Regions from separate parts of the Homo sapiens genome. Here all the other regions are linked to region 1. Evidence: promoter capture Hi-C in 16 types of primary human blood cells and fetal thymus (Javierre and others, 2016). All regions are on one chromosome and are shown on one strand. The core of a region is centred on a gene start or on the middle of the fragment in contact, and the rest is flanking DNA. Distances in the headings are between cores, read along the strand shown.

Region 1 (2,751 bases), core at 70-2,569:
ACAGAGGCTGGTTGAGGACACTGGTGGAGGGAGGGATGCAGCCCATGCTAAGCACTAAGGGACCACTCTGGGGATCCTTATTGATGAGGATTCTGCTGTCTTTGCAGATGGGTGGGCAGGCCTATTTCTGCCCCAGGATTCTGGGCATGTGACAGGCGGGGAGGCTGGGGCACGGGCTGGGGTCCGCATGGGTCCGTCTGCTAGTGGAAAGGCAGCGTCCTGTGGGAGGTACAGACAGAGAGAAACAGAGGTAAGTGGAGACAGAGAGCTCAGAGGCTGGGCAGGGAGGTCTAGGTGCTGAGCGGGACTCCGTTTCTGAGGCGGAAAGAACCGGGTGGCTGGGAGCAGGACGCTCCCCAGTCTCCACTTCCTAGACTAGGGCAGGCATTGGGCTTCCTCTTCAGCTCTCCAGGATCTCAAGGAGCTGCCGCGGAATCCTGGCCCTGGGCCGCAGTTTCCCCAGGAGGCTCTGCCAAGCCTGGCACCTTGCAGCCCGGCCTGGGCTCTGTCAAGGCCCGAGCCGGACTCGGCTCCACTCAGAGGCCGGCCCAGCACTTCCCTGCCGCCGCCGCCCCGCACCCGGCCACCGGGCTTCCTCCCAGTCCTCACCCCTGACCTCCGCGGCCGACTTCGAGGCGCGCCAGGCCGGGTCCAGCGCCCGCGGCCCCCTGGGCCGGGACAAGGAGGGCGGGTGAGCAGAAGGGCCGTGCCCAGGGCCTGGAAGTGCAAGGCCGCGTGGTGGGCATGGTAGGGAAGCGGAGCGTGGGCCTGTGAGGCGCGTGTGCGCCTGCGACCTCGGGACCGGGGCTCCCAAATGAACAGCGCGCACAGCTGGGAGCAGGGCTTGGGGAGCGGGGCTCTGCGGCCGGGGATCCGTAGAAGCCGCTGCCTGGAAGCGGGCGCCGGCAGGGGGTGGCCAGACCCGGTCGTGGAGCGTCCTAGTCTTCGGGCACGGCGGGGCCAGGCGAGCCCTCCTGGTTGTCGAGCCTCGGCTGAGAGCCGGGCTGCTCGCCCTTGCTTCCCGCCTCTCTAATCTAAACCATGCGGGGCTCCCAGCCCCTACCCGGCTCGCGGGGCCCGAGGGCCAAGAGGAGGGCACTGGGCCGCGCGGTGGAGGAGCCGGCGGCTCGCGTGGGGCTCGGGATCTTGGGGACCGCGACGCCGGGGAACCCTGGAGCCCCCCTCCCCGGGGGACAGCGGGCGCAGACTGATTGACAGCGGCGACGTCAGCGCGGAGGGGGGGCGGCCCCAGAGGGAGGGAGGGAGGAGGAGGGAATTGAGGCCCCAAAGTGCAGCCTTGGAGATCAAGGGCCCGCTCCAGAGCCGGGATGTGTCCAGCCCCGAGGGCACGGCAGGCAGCTGGACCCTGACCCAGCGGCGCGGAGTCGGAGCCCCGGCCGTCCCGCGCTCCTCGGACCCGAACCTGCAGGGGACCTCGGGCCGCTGGCGCCTCCGCATGCGGCACCGCAATTAGGGTGAGTGTGGGTTCCAGCCGAGTGGGGACGAGCTGGGCGTGCGGGGCTGGGGCCACAGGGGCTCAGGGTTAGGCTGCGGGGACGGACAGGAGGATGAGCTGGAAAGGGGTGAGTCACGCGACCCGGGGAAGAACTTCAGGGGCGGTCAAAGTTGCAGGAAGGCGGCGCGAAGTGCCTTGGGTCGGGCCGCCGCCTCGGCCCGACACCCAGTAGTTGGGGCACGAGCCCTCCTCTCTGAGTAACGCGATGAATTGGGTCTAGAGATCCAAGAGCATAGAAATATCGACAGCGCCAGCACCCTAAGAACAAGGCCGTGACAGGCGGAGCGGTGGCCTGGAAATTGGTGTTTGCAGAATATGCAAGGCCAAGGAAGAGGGCCCCGGTACTGGAGCGAAAATCCGTGTAGATATGTGAGTGATCAGAACACTAGACTCAGAGCCTTTGATGCAATAGACTAGTCAAAATTAAAGCAAGGAACATTATATATAAATAATGATCGATGATTAAAGATTATTGGAATGTGAACAATTACCAAAGAAAGGGCTAATCGGCATAACTGATATAACACGTGAACTTCCAAATAATACAATCATAGTCACTTTCAGAATCAAGTGAAAATAGTAATCACAATTTTTAAAAGGATTAAAGACAAAGTAATTCTAAATAGAGGAACAATGTAAGGACTGTTTATTAAAACCAATTGCACTAATATAACATATAGTAATAGTGTAACAAATTACCAAACTGTAGGAAACTAGCAAACGAACTGTAGGAGAAAGATGAACAATGAAAATACTATTAAGGGAAATACTATTAGTGGTAGTGATATAATAATATAATGTATTATTGATACTACAGTGAACTATTAAAAGAAATATTAACTAAAATCTTAGGAGCAATAGTAATATAAATAAAGACATATTAACAAGAATTGCTGGAGTAATATGACAATTTATGACCAATGTATTAATAGTCACAAGAACATTATAAATAATGGTTGAGTAATAAGAAGTATTGTACCAATGTGATGAAAAATAATCAGAGTATTAAGAGCTACAACAATATTACAAAGTATGACAAAATAACAAGAAGTAATGATGTGATGAGTAACTAGCGAGTTCAGATCTGTAACATTACAAATAATGACAAAGTAACAAGATACTGTCGGGGTGTGTTGAAGAATAATACCTGGAGTGTTATGAGCAAGCCTAACAAAACAAATTGTGGTTAGATAACAAGAAGTATTATAAGGATGTGAGGGAAATTAACATGAATT
Region 2 (2,751 bases), core at 79-2,578, 740 kb before region 1:
CCTCAATGTTCTTTGTAATTTTGGTATTGTTCCAAAGGCGTGGAGAAAGTACTTAAAATTTGGCAGTGTTTTTTTTTCTTACGGAGAGAAATATTTCTAGGTTGTGATAAAACAAAAGGGTTTTGTAAATGTAACTTTTTCTTATTAATAGAGACTACATTTTGCTTCATTATGCTGTTTGTTGACAGTACTGAAGACAGAGGAAGTTATACCTTTAACAAGAGGGTTGAGCCTGTGTGATTAGGGGTGTTGACTGGATTGAACACATTCCTTTGGTGGTATTCAGGTTGTTTTAACTGCCCACTTGTTTTGGTTATAATTGGGGATATTAATTTTAATAGTTTAAAGTTAATTTCTGTTTATCTTTGAGTAATTAAGGTCTTTATTTCTCCTTATGCCTAGATTATATTTTGAGAGACTTGAATAATTTTTTTTTTGATAGAATTTTCTTTGGCCAAGTGTATATTGTTGTAGTACCACTATTTCATGAATTAGGGCCTGGTGTAGAGGCTGACGCTTGTAATCCCAGCACTTTGGGAGGCTGAGGCAGGAGGATCACTTGAGGTCAGCAGTTTGAGACTAACCTGGGCAGCACAGTGAGACCAGCCGGGTGCGGTGGCTCATGCCTGTAATCCCAGTACTTTGGGAGGCCAAGGCAGGCAGATCATTTGAGGTCAGGAATTCGAGACCAGCCTGACCAACATGGTGAAACCCCATCTCTACTAAAAATAAAAAAAAAATTAGCCGGGCATGATGGCACATGTCTGTAGTCCCAGCTACTCTGGAGGCTGAGGCAGGAGAATCGCTTGAACCCGGGAGGCGGTGGTTACAGTGAGCCAAGATTGCGCCACTGCACTCCAGCCTGGGTGACAGAGTGAGACTCTGTCTCAAAACAAAAACAAAAACAAAAACACATAGTGAGACCTTGTCTCTACAAAAAATTTTTAAAAATTAACCAGGCGTAGTGGCATGCGCCTGTGGTTCCAGCTACTCGGGAGGATGAGGCAGGGGGATTGCCTGAGCCTGGGAAGTTGAGGCTGCAGTGAGCCATGATTATGCCACTGCACTCCAGCCTGGGTGACAGAGTGAGATCTTGTCTTGGGAAGGAAAAAAAAAAAAGACAATCTGGGAAAATAAGCTTCTTATATTTCATTGAGCTCTCATTATGGTCAAAGAGGTTTATATACATATTATCTCATCTAATGTAGAAGTTACCTTGTTTTACAGGTGGTAAGGTCACACTGCTTTTAAGAGGTGGAACTAGAATTTAAACCTAGTTCTGTCTGAATTCAAATTCAAAGCCCATGATCTAAGAGCTATACTTCATCACTTTTCAAATGTGATTGCTAAAGATATGACATGTGAGTAGTTTTGTAGTTAAGGTTTAGTTTTTGTAGAGGTGAAGGGAATTATCCCCTCTCCCTCTGAAATAAATTGACAATAGACTAATGGGAGAAAAAGCATACACATGCATGAGAGCCACATAAAATATGAGACTCAAAGAAGGGCCAAATGGCTGAAGCTTACATAGTGCTCTCTTCATAGGGGAGAAGGAGATGGAGGAATGTCGTCAGTTTTGAGAGTTAGTAAATCATTCTCAGGAAAGTTGAATGGGCCCAAAGAGCAGAAAATTGTTTCTAAGTGATTCACTTGGGAAGTGGGACCTGAGCAGAGATGATAGCCTGTGACAAAGTCTGTCTAGGTGTGGTGTCATTTCTCGGTTTTCCATCCTGTAATTTGAGATTAATCTTCTCTGGTTGAAGAAATTTCAGAAAGGGGAGAGGGAGGCAATTGTGTTCCTTCTAGAAGAGCTTCAGGAAAGGGAACTTGAGAGAGTCCCTCCTTGTGCTTGTGAGGGAGAAGCAGGAGAACACCAGAAAGTCCTTGGTTCTGAGGACTTCTGAGGCCTTTTAATTTCCTTTAGCTCAAAATGCTCAGCATGCCAAAATGCCAGAATTTGGAATATCGTTTTCTGAGCCCCAGTGTTTTCATTTGTAAAAGATTAGTATGTACCTTCAAATACTCATAGTTATCTTTTACATTTTACTTTGTTAGCCATTACTCTGTCAGAACCCTTCTGAAACTTATAACCATTATTCATTACATGAGCATATATGCTAGACAGTGGGGAGCCTATGTTGGCCAACCTAGAAAAAAATGACTCTCATGGATCTTTATAGTCTGTAATTAATACGATTGGCCCTCTATATACGTGTGTTGCGCATCTGCAGATTCAACCAACTGTGGATTGAAAATATTTGGAATTAAAAAAAGGATGGTTGTGTCTGTACTGAACACGTATAGAGTTTTCTTTCTTGTCATTATTTCCTAAACAATGCAGTATAACAATTATTTACATAGCATTTACATTGTACTAGGTATTATAGGTAATTAAGAGATGACTTAAAGTATATGAGAGAATGTGTAAAGGTTATATGCAAATACTATGCCATTTTATGTAAAGGACTTGAGCATGATGGACTTTGGTATTCATGGGTGGTTTGTGGAACCAGTCAGCACAGATGCTGATGGACAATTGCATTTGCATTTGCTTTTTTTGTTTGTTGTTTGTTTTTGAGACTGAGTCTCACGCTGTTGCCCAGGCTGGAGTGCAGAGGGGTGATCTCGGCTCACTGCAACCTCTGCCTCCTGGGTTCAAGTGATTTTCATGTCTCAGCCTCCTGAGTAGCTGGAACTACAGGTGTGAGCCACCATGCCAGGCTAATTTTTGTATTTTTTTTAGTAGAGATG
Region 3 (2,751 bases), core at 103-2,602, 590 kb before region 1:
CCTTTGGCTGTTGTAATATATAAAAATGAGGACCTTTTCCTCCCTAATAAAATCTTAATAACTTCCTTTATGGGTATGGGTCAAATGTACAGTAGGTAACAGATTGTTCTGATAAAATTTCAACACACATGCTCAGTAATTCACTATAAAACAAGTTACTTACATAAAGAAAAGGTCAGTTAAAGAGAATTTGCATTCATTTCTATTTACATTTATCATGAATAGTGTAAAATGCCTTTACTATGCATTTTTATATGTATATATGGGATCCTGGGCACAAATTACAGATTTTTAAAGAAGCATTTATTAATAAAAATTGCATCCTTCCTGCCTTTCCTACAGCCTCTGATATTTGCTTACAGTAGATTCAGTTACATTCTAAACTTGGCTCTAAAAACTTCTTCTAGGAACTTCCCCCCACTTTATGCTATTAGGTTTACCTTTAAGGTCATAGCCCCATGTTTAAATGTCAAACACAATCCTTTAAAAATAATCCATTAGAGCTCTGTAGAAGTCACATGAAGACTGTATTCTGTGTAAAACTTTCTTGTGGCACTGTTTTCTACACCATTTTTGGCTTGTATGATAGAAAATAAAAGCTTGTTTCATGTCTGTCTATTTTAGTATAACACCTTATGGGGCATGCATACTGATTATTTTATGGAAAGCACTCTCATCAGCCTGCCCATGAGGAAAATTAAGATTGTCTTGCTATGTTCCATGGAAATGGTCAAGGCTTTTCAAAAGAGAAAACAGAGAACAAAAGAATATGTCGGGCGTGCACCCAACTGTGTTATTGGCAGGAAACGTGCTGACTCCTTTGTGAATGTGTGAATTTGTGAAGACCCTTATTTTAAAGAATTATCTTTTCCTATTAGTTGTTGAATGAGAGGTTTTTCTCATATATAAATAGTTTATGGTTCTGACAAATTTTGTTCAGTTATCTATAAACTGAGCTTTCGTAACATTTGTTTTGTCTGTTTCTAATGAAGGCTTGTTGCATGAAGATTCTCAGTTGTGACATTGTATGGATGATGCCAGTGAAGTGATCGGAGTTCCAGTATCTAGTGTGTTGTAGCCATCATGAGCTCCTAATTGAAGGCGACAGGCTGCTTTTTTCCCCTCCTAGTTGGTCAGGCAAAATGTTAGATTTCATTCATTATTAACTCATTCCTTATCAGCAGAGGACTGGATTAATTTGTAGGGAACATAAATAATTTTTGCTTTGTGTCAATTTTAGAGATTGAAGTTCAGGCTTATACAAGATTCTCTCCCACCTCCAGTTGTTCCAATTGTATGCATTTGTGTAACTACCATCATAAAAATGATACACTAACATTTCTGTCACACCAAAAGTTTCTCGTGCCACTTTGTGCTCCATACCTTCCTCCTTTCCCTCTCTCTTGCAACACTGATTTGCTTCCTATTATTATAGTTGTGGCTGTTGTTTTTTTTTTTAACTTTTCATAGAAGGGACTCATACAGTGTGTAGACTTTTATGTATAGCTTCCCTACTCCCACAGTCATGGTATTGAGATTCACTTTTGTTGTTTTATAGATAATTTGTTCTTTTTAAATGCTGAGTACTTTTCATTGCATTAATATGTAACTGTCCATTCACCTATTGATGGACATTTAATTGTTTCTAGGCTTTTTATTATGGCTAATAAAATACCTAGTTGTGACATATGGAAAATGTATGTTTAATTTTTTTACAAACTGGTAAACTATTTTTCAGAGTGACTGTACCATTTTGCGTCTCCAGCAGTAATGTGTGAGGGCTTCAATTAGTTTGCATTCTTGCCATAACTTTGTACTACTAGTTTTTAAAATTTTAGTCATTCTATTGGGTGTAGTGGTATCCATTAGTGGTTTCAACTTGCATTTCCCTGATAATTAAATATGTTGAACATCTTTTCATGTGCTTACTTGCTATCTGTATATCTTCTTTAATCAAGTATCTTTAAACATATTAGGGCCATTAAAAAACTGTATTCTTCTTTTTGCTTCTACAACAGTTATCATAGAATTATCGTCATTTTATTTATTATGAACACCTTTATTTTTTATTTTTCATGCATGAAATCATTTATTTTAGAGCTAATGTAAGCTTAGCCCACATTATAATGTTATAACATTAATTTTAATGCTGACATTAAAATTAAACATTAAAACAACATTGATACAGAAAATAAACATATGACTTAATATGTACAAGAGAGTTAGCAAGAAAAACTTGATAAATAATTTTTTTTCCAACTTTTATTTTAGGTTCTGGGGGTACGTGTTCAGGTTTGTTACATCAGTAAATTGTATGTCACTGGAGTTTGGTGTACAGATTATTTTGTCACCCAGGTAGTGAGCATAGTACCCGATAGGTAGTTTTTTGATCCTCACTCTACTTCCACCCTCCTCCCTCAAGTAGGCCCCGGTGTCTGTTGTCCCCTTCCTTGTGTCCATGTGAATTCATTGTTTAGCTCCCACTTAGAAGTGAGAGCATTCTGTATTAGGTTTTCTGTTCTTGCATTAATTCGCTTAGGATAATGGCCTCCAGCTGCATTTATGTTGCTGCAAAGGACACGATTTTGTTCTTTTTTATGCTGTGTAGTATTCTGTGGTGAATATGTACCACATTTTTTTTTTTTTGAGATGGAGTCTCGCTCCTGTCGCACAGACTGGAGTGCAGTGGTGTGATCTCAGCTCACTGCAACCTCCACCTCCCAGGTTCAAGCGATTCTCCTTCCTCAGCCT

The links. The method cuts DNA at HindIII sites, captures the fragments that hold promoters and counts their contacts. A CHiCAGO score of 5 or more calls a contact.
Region 2: a fragment that was not itself captured here is called in contact with the fragment with the promoter of TBX4 in region 1 in 2 of 17 cell types (M0 macrophages and M1 macrophages); the score reaches 6.4 in M0 macrophages.
Region 3: a fragment that was not itself captured here is called in contact with the fragment with the promoter of TBX4 in region 1 in 1 of 17 cell types (total CD8 T cells); the score reaches 5.1 in total CD8 T cells.

What each region holds. Positions count from the first base shown.
Region 1 is chr17:61,451,103-61,453,853 of GRCh38, forward strand. It overlaps TBX4 (T-box transcription factor 4), which reads left to right and starts at 1,320. Exons shown (of 9, transcript NM_001321120.2): 1 at 1,320-1,475. LOC124904042 (a long non-coding RNA gene) reads right to left here. Exons shown (of 2, transcript XR_007065872.1): 2 at 2,140-2,751. RefSeq lists an enhancer at 1,290-2,131. The HindIII fragment of the contact is 10,401 bases long and covers 1-2,751 here.
Region 2 is chr17:60,711,276-60,714,026 of GRCh38, forward strand. The region is part of intron 5 of BCAS3 (BCAS3 microtubule associated cell migration factor); the gene reads left to right. Among named protein-coding and RNA genes, the nearest start is that of BCAS3, 35 kb to the left of the region's middle. The HindIII fragment of the contact is 384 bases long and covers 1,137-1,520 here.
Region 3 is chr17:60,856,940-60,859,690 of GRCh38, forward strand. The region is part of intron 7 of BCAS3 (BCAS3 microtubule associated cell migration factor); the gene reads left to right. Among named protein-coding and RNA genes, the nearest start is that of BCAS3, 180 kb to the left of the region's middle. The HindIII fragment of the contact is 1,511 bases long and covers 598-2,108 here.